Regions from separate parts of the Homo sapiens genome. Here region 2 is linked to region 1. The links are contacts of gene promoters, found by promoter capture Hi-C in blood cells and fetal thymus (Javierre and others, 2016). All regions are on one chromosome and are shown on one strand. Each heading gives the region's core, a stretch centred on a gene start or on the middle of the fragment in contact. The rest is flanking DNA. Distances are from core to core; before and after follow the strand shown. Region 1 holds the start of ORMDL3 (ORMDL sphingolipid biosynthesis regulator 3). Region 2 overlaps IKZF3 (IKAROS family zinc finger 3).

Region 1 (6,686 bases), core at 1-2,500:
GAGATCAATAAACTAACAAAAAGACTGGCAATGAGGAAACACTCTTGAGACTTTCGTGTGACTATGGATACATATCACTTCCATTAGTAAAACAACCAACTGGCCCCTACCCTAGATGGGGAGAAACAGAGAGAAGAGGCTGGCAGAGGTCGACTAGGTCTACAGGAGTTGAGCCGAAAACTTCTGCTGCCATAGCTGGCAGGTGGCTGCTTAGTGCTGGGCCCTGATGTGGTTTCATAACCTGCCTCAAACCAGAGCCTGCAGCAACTCTGTTGTGTTAACCACTTTTTTGCTGGTAGCTCTTTCCCCCTCCTTCCCGCCCCACCCTCTTGGCTCCACATACAAATATCCGGGCCCAGCCAGTATGCCAGACACTCAAGCCAAGGCTGAGCACCACCAGGGCAGCCACCAGGTGAGCCCTTCCCATTCCCTCCCCCAGGAAAGAGCAGCCCTCACAACAGCAAACCTCCTGTCTTCTGGAAGAGGAGCACAAAACATCCAGGCCTGGATGGGGACCCCAACGGGGAGTCCGGGGCAGCACGTCACAATGCCATGTCCATTCCGCCCACCCCCCAAGCTGCAGGACCACAGCTGATAACCTCTCAACTTTGGCCCAGCCACCCCGACTGGGGGAGGGCGGTAGGAGCGGAAAGCGAGTGCCCAGGCGAACCCGCACTAAGCACAGGAGAGGAGGAGCGAAGAGGCGGAGTCCTCACTGTTGTTGGGGTTTTCTGAGTGAGACCTCGGGTGCGGGGCCGGGGGGAGGGGTCCCGCTCTGTTCCCCAGCCTGGGTCTTCGCACTCGGAACCCGGTCCGGTCCGGGACCCCACAGCCATCTCCACGCGTTCACCCAGCCCTGGAGGCAGCCAAACGTTTATCCCCGAAGCCGAGCCGCTCCCCGCCTCCCACCCCTAGCCGAGGCGCTCCTCCCGACGTTCCACCCCCGGCCTCCCGCTCGCACTTTATTCCTTGGCCACCTCCCCAGCCGATGCACCCCCTCGGCTGATGCACTCCCTCCACCCCCCACTCCCTCTGCCCCCGTCTCTCCAGCCCGGGGCGCCTCCCCAGCAGCCCCCACCTTCTCTCCCGCCCCTCCCGTAGCCCTGGGGCCTCTTGGTTCCTTCCGGGCTCACCGTGTGGGGCCGAAGATCAACGGCCCGGGAACGGTTCCCGGGAGCGGGGGCCGCTGCTGCTCCAGCAGCTGTAACAACCCGCGGCTGCAGCCTCCCCGCTGGCAGCTCCGGCCGAATCAGCGCTCCGCGCCGGTCCCCGTACGTCACCGCCCCGCGCCGGCACGCCCGACGCCTTCTGGGAGTTGTAGTTTCTTCCGCTGGCTCCGGGCCGGCCCTCCCGACGCCTCCTGGGAGTTGTAGTTTTTCCTGGGCTCCGTTCCCGGCCTCTTCGGGGACGCACGGTTGGAAGTTGTACCGTGACGTGATGGTCAGATCGGATGATAGAATTTTGGTGCGTAACAATTCCAACTTTTGCTTCTGTGCCCTTCAAGTGTATTTTATCCGTGCCCCAGTTTTGCAGATGAGGAGACTCGGACTTGTAAGTAACTTTCTGTAGGTCTTTGCTGGGTCCTAGACTGGATCGAAACCCAAATATTCTGACCCCAACTGCAGGATTTTTCCACTGCACCTGGCTGCCTCCGCCCTGGCCCCAGATTGGCTCCTCCAGAAACAGACTAGCCCGGCCCTTTGCCCTGCTGGGCCCTCCTGGGAGAGCGCTTTTCACAACATTGGCTGGGATGAGGGTCTGGAGGGCCCGGAACGGAGCCTGCCTTCTCCTTCTCAGTCACGCTTGGCCCAGGCTGCCCCGGACCGGGCCACATCCTTGGCCGCCCCGCACCTGACGTGAGAAGAGGCTACGTATCATAGATTCCTCCATCAGTAGTAAGGAGCCTGAGTTTCTGTCTCAGGTCAGCTTGTGTGGCTTTGAATGAGAGGCTCTGGTCTGCAGTTTTCACATCTGCATCGTCTAAAGGCAAGGGCACAGACTTTACTGCCTGGTAGACATGGGGTAGGCCCTCCTTTATTGGCAGTGTGACCCTGGGCAAATTACTTGTCTTAATCTCCAATTCCACACCTGTGAAACCCCACCTCCAAGGTTGTGGGAACCCAAAAGAATGTATGTAAAGCACCTGTTGCATTGTAGGAATCTACTTAATATTACTGTAGGAGGTTGAACTAAATGGCTCTTGAGGTCTCCTCGGTTACTCCCATTCTCCATGTCACCAAGAGGTCTTGTCTGGGTAGTTTCAACTCCTTACCCAGCTTCTTTCTAAGTCCACTCTATGCAGGGCAGGGCTGGAATAGCAAGGTCAGATGATGTCATGGCATGCCAACCTGACTCTGAATGGCAGTTCATGGCACCCTGAACTGAAAGTGAGGGAACAGGAAGGAAAAGGCTAGCCCAGGGAAACTGCGGAGCACTTTACTCGGACTACACCTACCTTTCCTTCCCCAGGGGGCTGCCAGGAAACAGTTGTCACACAGCTGGAGTGGGACCCCCAGAGGCACTTAGTGGTCACCAGGCAGGTGGGTATTTGAACCACCCAGAGCAGAACAGGCAGCTTCTTCAATATTTCCAGGGCCAATGGCCCCAAAAGGGCTCATTCCAAGATCGAAATAATCATCTGAGTCTGAAATAGCTCTGCCTATGTCCTGTGGAAGTTTCTCCTGGTTTGTGGAGGTGCCTTTCCTTATAGTCATCTTTCTGCAGACATAAGCAAACCCAGTGTTGTTCTTTTCACAGAAACCTCCCCAGCATTAAGGCAAGAAAGGTGTCTCTGTTTTTTCCGAAGTGTGCCTGCTTGACTCCTTTGATTTTTCTCTGGGATTCTTCATCCTCCATCAAGTTGATCGATCCCTCTGGATCTTGGTCAGTTTCCTGACATCTCTATGAAGTTCAGTGACCCAGACTGAGTCCACGTCTCAAATAAGGTTCTGACTAATGCAGAGTCTAACAGAAAGATTACTGAACATGTCATGCACTATTAATAACTCCTGTTATCGAGGATTTTTTTTTCACAATAGGAATGAACAGAGTTCTGACTCACTCTAGGTTTGTGGTAAATTGCAGATCACTTTCTGCTTTATTTAGCGGGAGTCCCTGTTGTCATCTTTCTCCTTCTCTCTTGGCCCTCATAATTATCATATCTTCCCCAAACGTTCTTCAGCTGTGAATAGCCCTAAGCACTATTCAGAGTGAGTGACAGCTCTCTTATTTCGTGCTGGGGGACATACAAACCCTTGGACAAACACTTGTCACTGTGTGCCAAGAAGCTGAAAAATTCTTCTTGCCTCAGAGCCATAATTACACTTTTGGTAGCATATTCTAAGGAAGTCATCCCATGTACAGGAAAAGCTGCAATGTGTCAGGATGTTCATTCCAGCAATATTTATAGTAGTGAAAAACTGAAAGCAACCAAATGCCCAAGAAAAAAATTACAGTATATCCACTGGATGGAATAGTATGAAGCCATTTAGGACAGATTGTGAAAACCCTGTGGCAGTATGGGGAATGTTTGCTAAGTTATATGAAAAGATGAGGACACAAAATAGCATAACATACATTCCCCAGGGATATAGTCAGCAAAGTCTAGAATGAAGAAAATTAGGACAAACACCCAATTCCCTTAACAAATAAAACTGGGGCCAGGTATGGTGACTCACGCCTGTAATCCCAGCACTTTGAGAGGCCAAGGCTTGTGTCCAGGAGTTCGAGACCAACCTGGACAACATGGTAAAACCCCGTGGTCTACAAAAAATACAAAAATTAGTTGGGCATGGTGGTGTGTCTATAGTCCCAGCTACTCAGGAGGCTGAGGTGGGAGGATCAATTGAGCCCGGGAGGTCAAGGCTGCAGTGAGCTGTGATCGTGCCAGTGCATTCCAGTCTGGGCAGCAGAGTGAGATCCTGTCTCAAAAAAAAAAAAAAAAAAAAAGGAAAAAAAAGAGGGGGAGAGACTTACAGATTAAAATAAATTAAATGATATATCAACTAAAAGTCTTATTTGGATCCTGATTCAAGCAAACTGACTTTAAAAAAAAAAAAAAAAAAAAAAAAAAAAAGGCCGGGCATGGTCACGCATGCCTGTAACCCCAGTACTTTGGGAGGCCAAGGTAGGCGGATCACCTGAGGTCAGGAGTTTGACACCAGCCTGGCCAACGTGGTGAAACTCCGTCTCTACTAAAACTACAAAAACTAGCTGGGTGTGGTGATGGGCGCCTGTAATCCCAGCTACTCAGGAGGCTGAAGCAAGAGAATTGCTTGAACCCAGGAGGCAGAGGTTGTAGTGAGCCAAGATTGCACCATTGGCACTCCAGCCTGGGTGACTGAGCAAGGCTCTGTCTCAAAAAAAAAAAAAAAAAAAAAAAGATTTTATTAAGTTATCAGGCAAATTTGAATACTGACAAGGTATTCAACGATATTAAGGAATTCTAAATGTTTAGGCGTGATATGGAATTGTGGTAAGGTTGTTTTTTTAATTTAAAAAGTCCTCCATGGCTGGGCGTGGTAGCTCATGCCTGTAATCCCAGCACTTTGGGAGGCTCAGGCAGACAGATCACCTGAGGTCAGGAGTTCGAGACCAGCCTGGCCAACATGGTGAAACCCCGCCTCTACTAAAAATACAAAAATTAGCCAGGCGTGGTGACAGGCGCCTATAATCCCAGCTACTTGAGAGGCTGAGGCAGGAGAATCGCTTGAACCCAGGAGGTGGAGGATGCAGTGAGCCGAGATCGTGCCATTGCACTCCAGCCTGGGAGACAAGAGTGAAACTTCATCTCAAAAAAAAAAAAAGTCTTCCTTGGCTGGGTGCGTTGGATCACACCTGTAATCCCAGCACTTTGGGAGGTGAGGCAGGCAGATCACAAGGTCAGGAGTTTGAGACCAGCCTGGCCAGCATGGTGAAATCCCGTCTCTACTAAAAATAGAAAAAAATTAGCCAGGCATGGTGGCACGTGCCTGTAATCCCAGCTACTCGGGAGGCTGAGGCAGGAGAATTACTTGAAACTGGGAGGCAGAGGTTGCAGTGAGCCGAGATCATACCACTGTACTCCACCCCGGGTGACAGAGAGAGACTTCGTCTCAAAAAAAAAAAAAAAAAAAAAGTCCTCCTTTCAGACATACATACATACTAAAATATCTGTGGATGAAATGATACAGTGATTGCATTTGCTTCGAAATAATCTGGACTGGGAACCATAGGGAAATAATAAGATGAGCCATGAGGTGATAATTATGGAAGCTGTGTGATGAGGACATGAAGTTCCTTATATTATTTTCTATACTTTTTTTTTTTTTTTTTTTTTGAGACAGAGTCTCACTCTGTCACCCAGGCTGGAGCACAGTGGTGCAGTTTCGGCTCACTGCAACCTCCGCCTCCCTAGTTCAAGAGATTTTCCTGCCTCAGCCTCCCGAGTGGGCTGGGATTACAGGTGCACGCCACCACATCCAGGTAATTTTTGTATTTTTAGTTGAGACAGGGTTTCACCATGTTGGCCAGGCTGGTTTTGAACTCCTGACTTCAAGTGATCTGCCCACCTTGGCCTCCCAAAGTGCTGGGATTACAGGCATGAGCCACCACGCCTGGGCTATTTTCTCTACTTTTTTAATGTTTAAAACTGTTCATAATAAAAAGTCTAAACCTGCATATACGTTAATGATTAAGATAAGCCAAAATAGAGCAGCACTGGTAACATCCTCTGGCACCAGACTGCCAGGGTTCAACTCGCAGCTCCTCTAGTTACCAGCTGTGTAACCTTAAGCAAGTTACTGAACCTCTCTGTGCTTCAGTTACCTCGTTGCTAAAAGAATTGGCAAGTGACACTGGTGTTCGGAAAAAATAAAGTAAATGAAGATGGCGATGATCATGATAATACCCTCCTCATGTTGTGGATATTAAATGGGTCAGTAAATGTGAAATGAAACACTCAAAACAATTCCTGGCACATAATTAAGTGCTCAGTATGTGTTGCCTTTTATTAATTCATTCCACATTTGAATGATATTTGAGCATCTACTTTACTAGGTTATGGAAATTCAACAAAATAAAAACAGACCTTGGGCCGGGCACTGTGGCTCAAGCCTGTAATCCCAGCACTTTGGGAAGCTGAGGCGGGAGGATTGCTTGAGGCCAGGAGTTCAAGACCAGCCTGGCAACGTAATGAGACCCCCCCCCCACCCAACCACCATCTCTATAAAAAACAAAAATAAATTAGCCGGGCATGGTGGCATGTTCCCGTAGTCCCAGCTACTCAGGAGGCTAAGGCGGGAGGATCGCTTGAGCCCAAGGAATTCGAGGCTGCAGTGAGTTATGATCTCGCTAGGAATTCGAGGCTGCAGTGAGTTATGATCTCGCTATTTCACTCCAGCCTGGGCAATAAAGCAAGCCCTGTCTCTTAAAACAACAACAACCGGGCATGGTGGCTAGCGCCTGTAATCCCAGCACTTTGGGAGGCCGAGGCAGGTGGATCATCTGAGGTCAGGAGTTCGAGACCAGCCTGGCCAACATGGTGAAACCCCGTCTCTACTAAAAATGCAAAAATTAGCCAGGCATGGTGGCGCGCCCCTGTAATCCCAGTTACTAGGAAGACTGAGGTGGGAGAATTGCTTGAACCCGGGAGGCGGAGGCTGCAGAGAGCAGAGATGGCGCCATTTTACTCCAGCCTGGGCAACAAG
Region 2 (6,583 bases), core at 538-3,037, 140 kb before region 1:
GCGTCGTGGTAGGCATCTATAATCCCAGCTACTAGGGAGGCTGAGGCAGGAGAATCGCTTGAACCTGGGAGGTAGAGGTTGCAGTGAGCTGAGATGGCGCCGCTGTACTCCAGCCTGGGTGACAGAGTGAGACACCATCTCAAACAAACAAACAAACAAACAAAATTAGCTGGGCGTTGTGGTAGGCATCTATAATCCCAGCTACTAGGGAGGCTGAGGCAGGAGAATCGCTTGAACCTGGGAGGCGGAGGTTGCAGTGAGCCAAGATCACGCCACTGCAACAGCCTAGGCAACAGAGCAAGACTCCGTCTCAAAAAAAAAAAAAAAAAGAGAGAAATAAAAATGAATTGTAAAAATGACTTCGTCTAAATGTCTAAGATGAAGGAAAGGTTTCACCCATACAATTCATGCAAACTTTATTCTGCCAACTCCCCAAATGCTTTATTGCTTGAAATATGTAAGTAATAACTTCAACTATCTGTGCAAGGCTGGTCTTTCTGATTGTTGATAGAATATACTCAATGAATTTGTCAGTTTTAGGGGCTAAAATTTTTATTTTCTAACTCTTGCTCTGTTTAAAACAGAGGCTTTGGGATTTAAAGCACTAAAAGATCCTTATGGAATCCTAAATTAAAACAAATGCAGGTTTGCTAGGGCTAAAAATGTTACGTTTCTGCATAAATTGGGTTCTCTGGAATCTGTCTTTAAAAAGCCTACTATTGTTTCTTACTTGAAAAAGGCAACAGTAGAGAACTATTCTAATTTTTTTCGAACCAAACTCATCCTTAATTCACTACTTTGAAAAATGAGCTGTAAAAGAGAGAAACCCTTCAATTGCCAATTATGATCTCTCATGGTGGGTTTTGTTGGGGCTGACTTGTTTAATCCTAGTGGCTGAATTATAACAAGTTTTGAGTTTGGGGCTAGGTTTTAATCAAAGCAGTAGATGTGAACTGACATAAAAACAAGCCTTTTTTTCCAATTAAAATTTTGCCAGATAACATCAAGAACATGAGGTCCCAAATTTGAAAATAAACTCAGTCTTATTTTTCTAGGACGGAAATTCTAAATCTTGAAAAAAAAGTATTATCTTGGTCAAAATAAGGAGTAAAAACATCACGACAGCACATAACTTTTACAAATCTTTACCGTTGTTCAATCTTTTAGAGATTTAAAATAAGTAGGCTGGCTGGGCATGGTGGCTCCTGCCTGTAATCCCAGCACTTTGGGAGGTCAAAGTGGGAGGAATGCCTGAGCTCAGAAGTTTGAGACCAGCCTGAGCAACATAGTGAGACCTCATGTTTATTTAAAAAAAAAAAAAAAAGTGGGCCAATCAAGAGGAAAGTTGGATTTAATAAATTTATCCCAAATGGCCAAAAAGTAGCCCCCAAACAATGATTTATATCCAGATCACAGTTTTTCATAATTTACAAACTGTACATCATTTGCTTGTCTCGTCTTTTGAATGGAAAGAGTGTGTGTGTTGGGAAAATAATCTTCTAATAAAGTTTACCAGAAGAAAATACTGATGGCTATAATTTTCTCACAAAAATTAAAAGGACATTTTTTATAGGGTGGGCTCTTCCTATCTGACTGTGTTGTTCTCCATGGGTGCAAGGATGGTGAGGAGATGATCATCTCCACTGAGGCAGACGGAGAGCAATTAGTGCCTTAATGGTCGTGTAATTAGCCCTAGAGGTCTCTGCTGTTGTAACCCTTCAGAACAAGAATGACAGATTGAAACCTTCCTACTTAACTCTTTCTAGTTTCCACACTGGGCTCTGAGGAATGCACTTCCTAGACAAGGAATGCTCATTTCTCTCACTTACCAGAATGTGTCCTAAGATGCCCCGTGAGCGCATCTCTTCTTTGGCATGCATAGTTGCAGAGGTGACACTTAAAAGGTTTTTCCCCTGTGTGCAGTTTAATGTGGCGGAGGAGGTTACCTTTCTGAGTAAAAGATGCCCCACACTGATTACACTGGAATGGGCGTTCACCTTTAAAAAGGACAAAAAAGGAGATTTCTGGTCACAGGCAAGTGGAGAAACATATGCACAGATTAGATGCCTAGGGGAAAAGCTCATCTTTTAGACAATTACTGTTCACATTGGGATCAGTTGGGAGCTGCATTTCAAGGCAAGCCTAAGACTTACTTATGAAATCTCCTCTGTAGAAGAGAAAAAGCACCCACTAGCAAGGCTATTTTAGGTATCATATTGAATCAGAGCAAAGAAACAAGAGCAGCTCTAGAAGTGCTTTCTAGATCTAAGTTTTTATATTACTATATTACTTGGTACTCCCTTTTTTTTTTTTTTTTTTTTTTAGACAGGGTCTTCTTGCTCTGTTGCTCAGGCTGGAGTGCAATGGTCCCATCATGGCTCACTGAAACCTTGACCTCCTGGGTTCAAGTGAGCCTGTCACCTCAGCCTTCAGAATAGCTGGGACTACCAGTGTTTGCCATTATGCCTGGCTAATTTTTTAGTATTCCTTTTGAATATAATCTCCTTTGAAAAAAGAGCCAGAAACTAAAGTCCTTACAAGGTGTTGAGGGCTAGAAATTCTCCTTTTTAAAGTCTTCATATGAGATATGGGATGGAATCGACTGGCTCAAGTGCGATGGTTGTGTTTGTATGCATTTCTATAGACTACCTGTTTATTGTCTGAAGATACATTATTTTAAGCTGGAAATAAAAACTATGTCCTTTCATTTACCAAATTTGAACCCAATACAATAAGAAGATCTGCTCTTATTAAAAATGTTATGCAAAAATATACAAAAGATGGCTAAGAAGCAAATCACACAATTCAACTCCTACTTAGAAACTGAAGAAAAAGTATTTGGCTGACCTAGAACACTGTGCTCTCTACAGTCTTTTTTTATTCATAGCATTTGCAATATGTTTGCCAAATGCATGGTGAGGCAGGAATAAAAAGCACTGAGTGAACAGCAATGCAGAGAGAGAGATACATCAGCATTATAGCAAAAATCAATGAAAGTAACCAAAAGTTCCAAATTCCACCACTTCATTTCTCACGTGGCTGCATTAGGAGAGTTTTCAGAAGAATGAAAAAAGCAGACTATTTACCAGTATGGCTTCGCTTATGAACCATTAAGACATTGAAGCTGATGCAGGATAATCCACACACATCGCAGTTCATCTTTCCACTGGTTGGCCTGCTACTATCGAATGAGACAACATGTCTCTCCAACTTAATGTTTTCATATTCATTATATTCTCTTGAATAGCTGTAAGGGATTTCAGGCTCTTCTGCATTTCCCATGGGTTCTGACTTTAAAACATTCTCATCTCTTTCACTGTATTCATCTTTCACTTTCATTGAATCATCTGCAGGGAAGAAAATGCAAGAAATGAACAACGACTATACTTGAAGCTATCAAAGCAGCTCAAACAGCAGAGACCCACAACTGACAATTAAATACCAATCGAAGCTAACAAAACACTGTACATCTACAAAACAAGAAAGCACCATTAGCGTGACCGCACGTTATTTAAATTCAGAACCACAGTCAGAGGAAAACACACATACTTACACACATAAAAATAGACGATAGTGTTTTAGGCTATCCAGAAAATTACAGATAATAGATTTTAGCTAAGTTTGCTCAAAGTGGCCATGAAACAAACATTGAGCAACTCTTCTCCAGTACTAGGGGAGAGGAAGGGTTCTCAGATCTAGTACTGTTTTTGGTGGCTGCAGTTAAAAAGGCAAGGTGATGTACTCTTAGGTTTCAAGGAGAAAATATTGTTTGAATCCTTCAGATGCATCCAGTGTAAGCCATTAAGATTAAGAGTTGACTAGTTAACATAGTTTTTCTAATTTTAAGCCATGCATTGCCTCTTCCCCTTCCACGTATATGAATTGCTAAAACACATCTTATCTCTGTCTCTCTTGGAGCTGATAAAGGCACAACATTGACTGTAGAGGAAGTTGTCAGTACTAATGAAAAAGTGTTGAGAAAGACAAAAGGAAAAGTAATTCTTTCATATAACCTAAGGAGTCACTTTCATCGACACAGGTAAGTGGGGCTCAATCTAAATAAGGGGAAGGACCATTAGGTCCCAAGTTAGGGAGAACTAAACTCAAGGACTCAAGGATTGTGTAATAGGACTGGATAGGAGAGGAGGGACTGGCTCAAGTGAGTTGGCTGACCAAGTACTATCTTAAGAACTGCAATGTAAATGAATGAAATTTAAAAGAAGAGCTGTAATACTCTTCATGAAGAGCATAAGAACATATGAAGAACGTGGGAAAAATATGAAGAACATAAGAAACAAAGAAGGCAAATTTATGTACTTGCACTGACACTAGTAAAACCTAAAAATTTGCCTGATGTAAGAATAATAAACATTTGTAAGGGATTTTGCATATATAAAATATGCTATATAAATGCTTACTTTTTCAACCATTGGTCCTTAGAAATCAAAAGTTGTACCTCCCCATGAGGAATCACAAATCAATGGAGTGTAGGGCTGGAAGGGAATTTAAAGGTCATCTAATCCAACCCTCTTGTTTCTCAGATGAGGAAATCTGGGAGCAGAGATGTTTTTGGTCATTTGTCGAAGGTTACACATCCAGTTACTGGCAGAGGTGTGATTAGAATGCAAAACTTAAGCTTGAACTATCAATTACTTGGATTTGACCTCATGCACTAGACATATAAGGCCTAAGTGGGTTCTTACCAACTGTATTACACACCCTCCCATCAATGGTGTAAATGTTAAAACCCAAAACAGTCTGAAAAAAGATATTTTAAAAAACTACATCCCTTCCAAAAAACATCAGTAAGTGTTGCTCCTCTTGCTGCATAGGAGGAAGTACAACTGCAGCTGTGCCTGGCTTGCTACCTTCAACCCAAGTTTCAATTTTCACTTCTATCAAGGTTACCTTTCATCTATATTAACTGTGTTTGCTTAATAGAGCAAGACAGGGCCTAACCACCATCAGAGGAGCCAGGGCTGCCACACAGTTCCACTGCTTCCTACCACAGTTCATGGTTCACAACTTTTCACTCTTTGACTAGCAAAGATGTAGGGCTGTAGGATAAGTCCAACATGTTTCAAATTTGCCCACCCTATGGATCTGGATTATATAAGAAATGATATCTGTTTCCTACTTGGAAAGAGGTTTACTTCTTTCTCTGGATAGGTCTTCCCTGCTTTCAAGTGGAATTTGTTTGCTTAAGTGTTTATTTTTTATTTTTTTAAGAGAAGGATGCACCTGAGGCTTGTACTTGCCTCCCTTCCTCCATCACTCCAGCTGTGGGTAATATCCCACCAAAGCTTGAGTGCTCTTCAGTTTGCATGTAGGCGTTTAAAAGAACCTCAACGGAAAATTTCAGCTACTTAAAACCAAAAACAGCAGATAGAAAAGGCCAGCAGAAAAGGATCCTTTCCATTTTGGTTAGAAAATGTGAACATGACCAGACTCAGGCCACTCCATGGTCACTGAACTTTAAAATGTAGTAAGATCAATGTGTTGAGTCTTTCTGAAAACAGAGGACATAAGAGAGCTGCTCCTTTCCCTCAGGATTTTGGCTTTAGTTGGCCTGACCTGGAATTCAATACGACACCATCCTGGCTCAAGAGCAGATCTTAGCTTTAGTCCTTTAGGAGTCAGCTATAGAGCAAGGAAGACAGTATTTGAGACCCAGGGACATAAGGACACAGGGACAGGGCATTAGAGAAGTCCTTTGGGCTTACATAGTTGCTGGTTTGCCTTTGGAGTCTTACCAGTTTTAGATGAATGACCTGGATGACCTCTCTGCATGGTTACTGGGGATTAGCAACTTATTTTTATTTTATTCTATTTTATTTTTTGAGACATAGTCTTGCTCTGTTGCCCAGCCTGGAGTGTAGTGGCACGATCAGCTCACTGCCACCTCTGCTTCCCAGGTTCAAGTGATTCTCCTGCCTCAGCCTCCCGAGTAGCTGGGATTACAGGCATGCACCACAATGCCTGGCTGATTTTTGTGTTTTTAGTAAAGACGGGGTTTCGCCATGTTGGCCAGGCTGGTCTCGAACTCCTGACCTCAAGTGATCCACCCTCCTTGGCCTCCCAAAGTGCTGGGATTACAGGCCTGAGCCACCGTGTCCAACCAGATTCTAATTTATTCTAATATTCAACTCTGTTACCTTCTCAAGGTAAGCCATAATAAATTGCTGGCTGGGCATAGTGGCTCATGCCTGTAATCTCAGCACTTTGGGAGGCCAAGGCAGGTGGATCACTTGAGGTCAGGAGTTTGAGACCAGCCTGGTCAACATAGCAAAACCCCGTCTCCACTAAAAATATAGAAAATTAGCTGGGCATGGTGGCTCCCAGCTACTGGGGAGGCTGAGGCAGGATAATCGCTTCAACCTGGGAGGTGGAGGTTGCAGTGACCCGAGATCGTACCACTGCACTCCAGCCTGGGCGACAGAGCGAGACGCCATCTCAAAAAAGATAAAATAAAATAAAATAAATTAGAATTTAAGGTATGAATGAGATTCCTGAGAGATATTAGGCTTAGTACTCAGCCTCCAAACACAGTCCACCAAAACCAGGAAAGGCATTAGCCTGCTCT

What was found. The method cuts DNA at HindIII sites, captures the fragments that hold promoters and counts their contacts. A CHiCAGO score of 5 or more calls a contact.
Region 2: a fragment that was not itself captured here is called in contact with the fragment with the promoter of ORMDL3 in region 1 in 1 of 17 cell types (activated CD4 T cells); the score reaches 5.1 in activated CD4 T cells.

Annotation. Positions count from the first base shown.
Region 1 is chr17:39,926,351-39,933,036 of GRCh38, forward strand. ORMDL3 (ORMDL sphingolipid biosynthesis regulator 3) reads right to left here and starts at 1,251. Exons shown (of 4, transcript NM_139280.4): 1 at 1,134-1,251. LRRC3C (leucine rich repeat containing 3C) reads left to right here and starts at 1,382. Exons shown (of 4, transcript NM_001195545.2): 1 at 1,382-1,464. It overlaps LOC124903999 (a long non-coding RNA gene), which reads left to right and starts at 370. Exons shown (of 2, transcript XR_007065750.1): 1 at 370-412; 2 at 578-652. RefSeq lists enhancers at 505-1,115, 1,116-1,727. The HindIII fragment of the contact is 24,326 bases long and covers 1-6,686 here.
Region 2 is chr17:39,789,587-39,796,169 of GRCh38, forward strand. IKZF3 (IKAROS family zinc finger 3) reads right to left here. Exons shown (of 8, transcript NM_012481.5): 4 at 3,087-3,347; 5 at 1,830-1,997. Among named protein-coding and RNA genes, the nearest start is that of GRB7, 55 kb to the left of the region's middle. RefSeq lists enhancers at 2,058-2,167, 3,265-3,394. The HindIII fragment of the contact is 5,694 bases long and covers 1-4,634 here.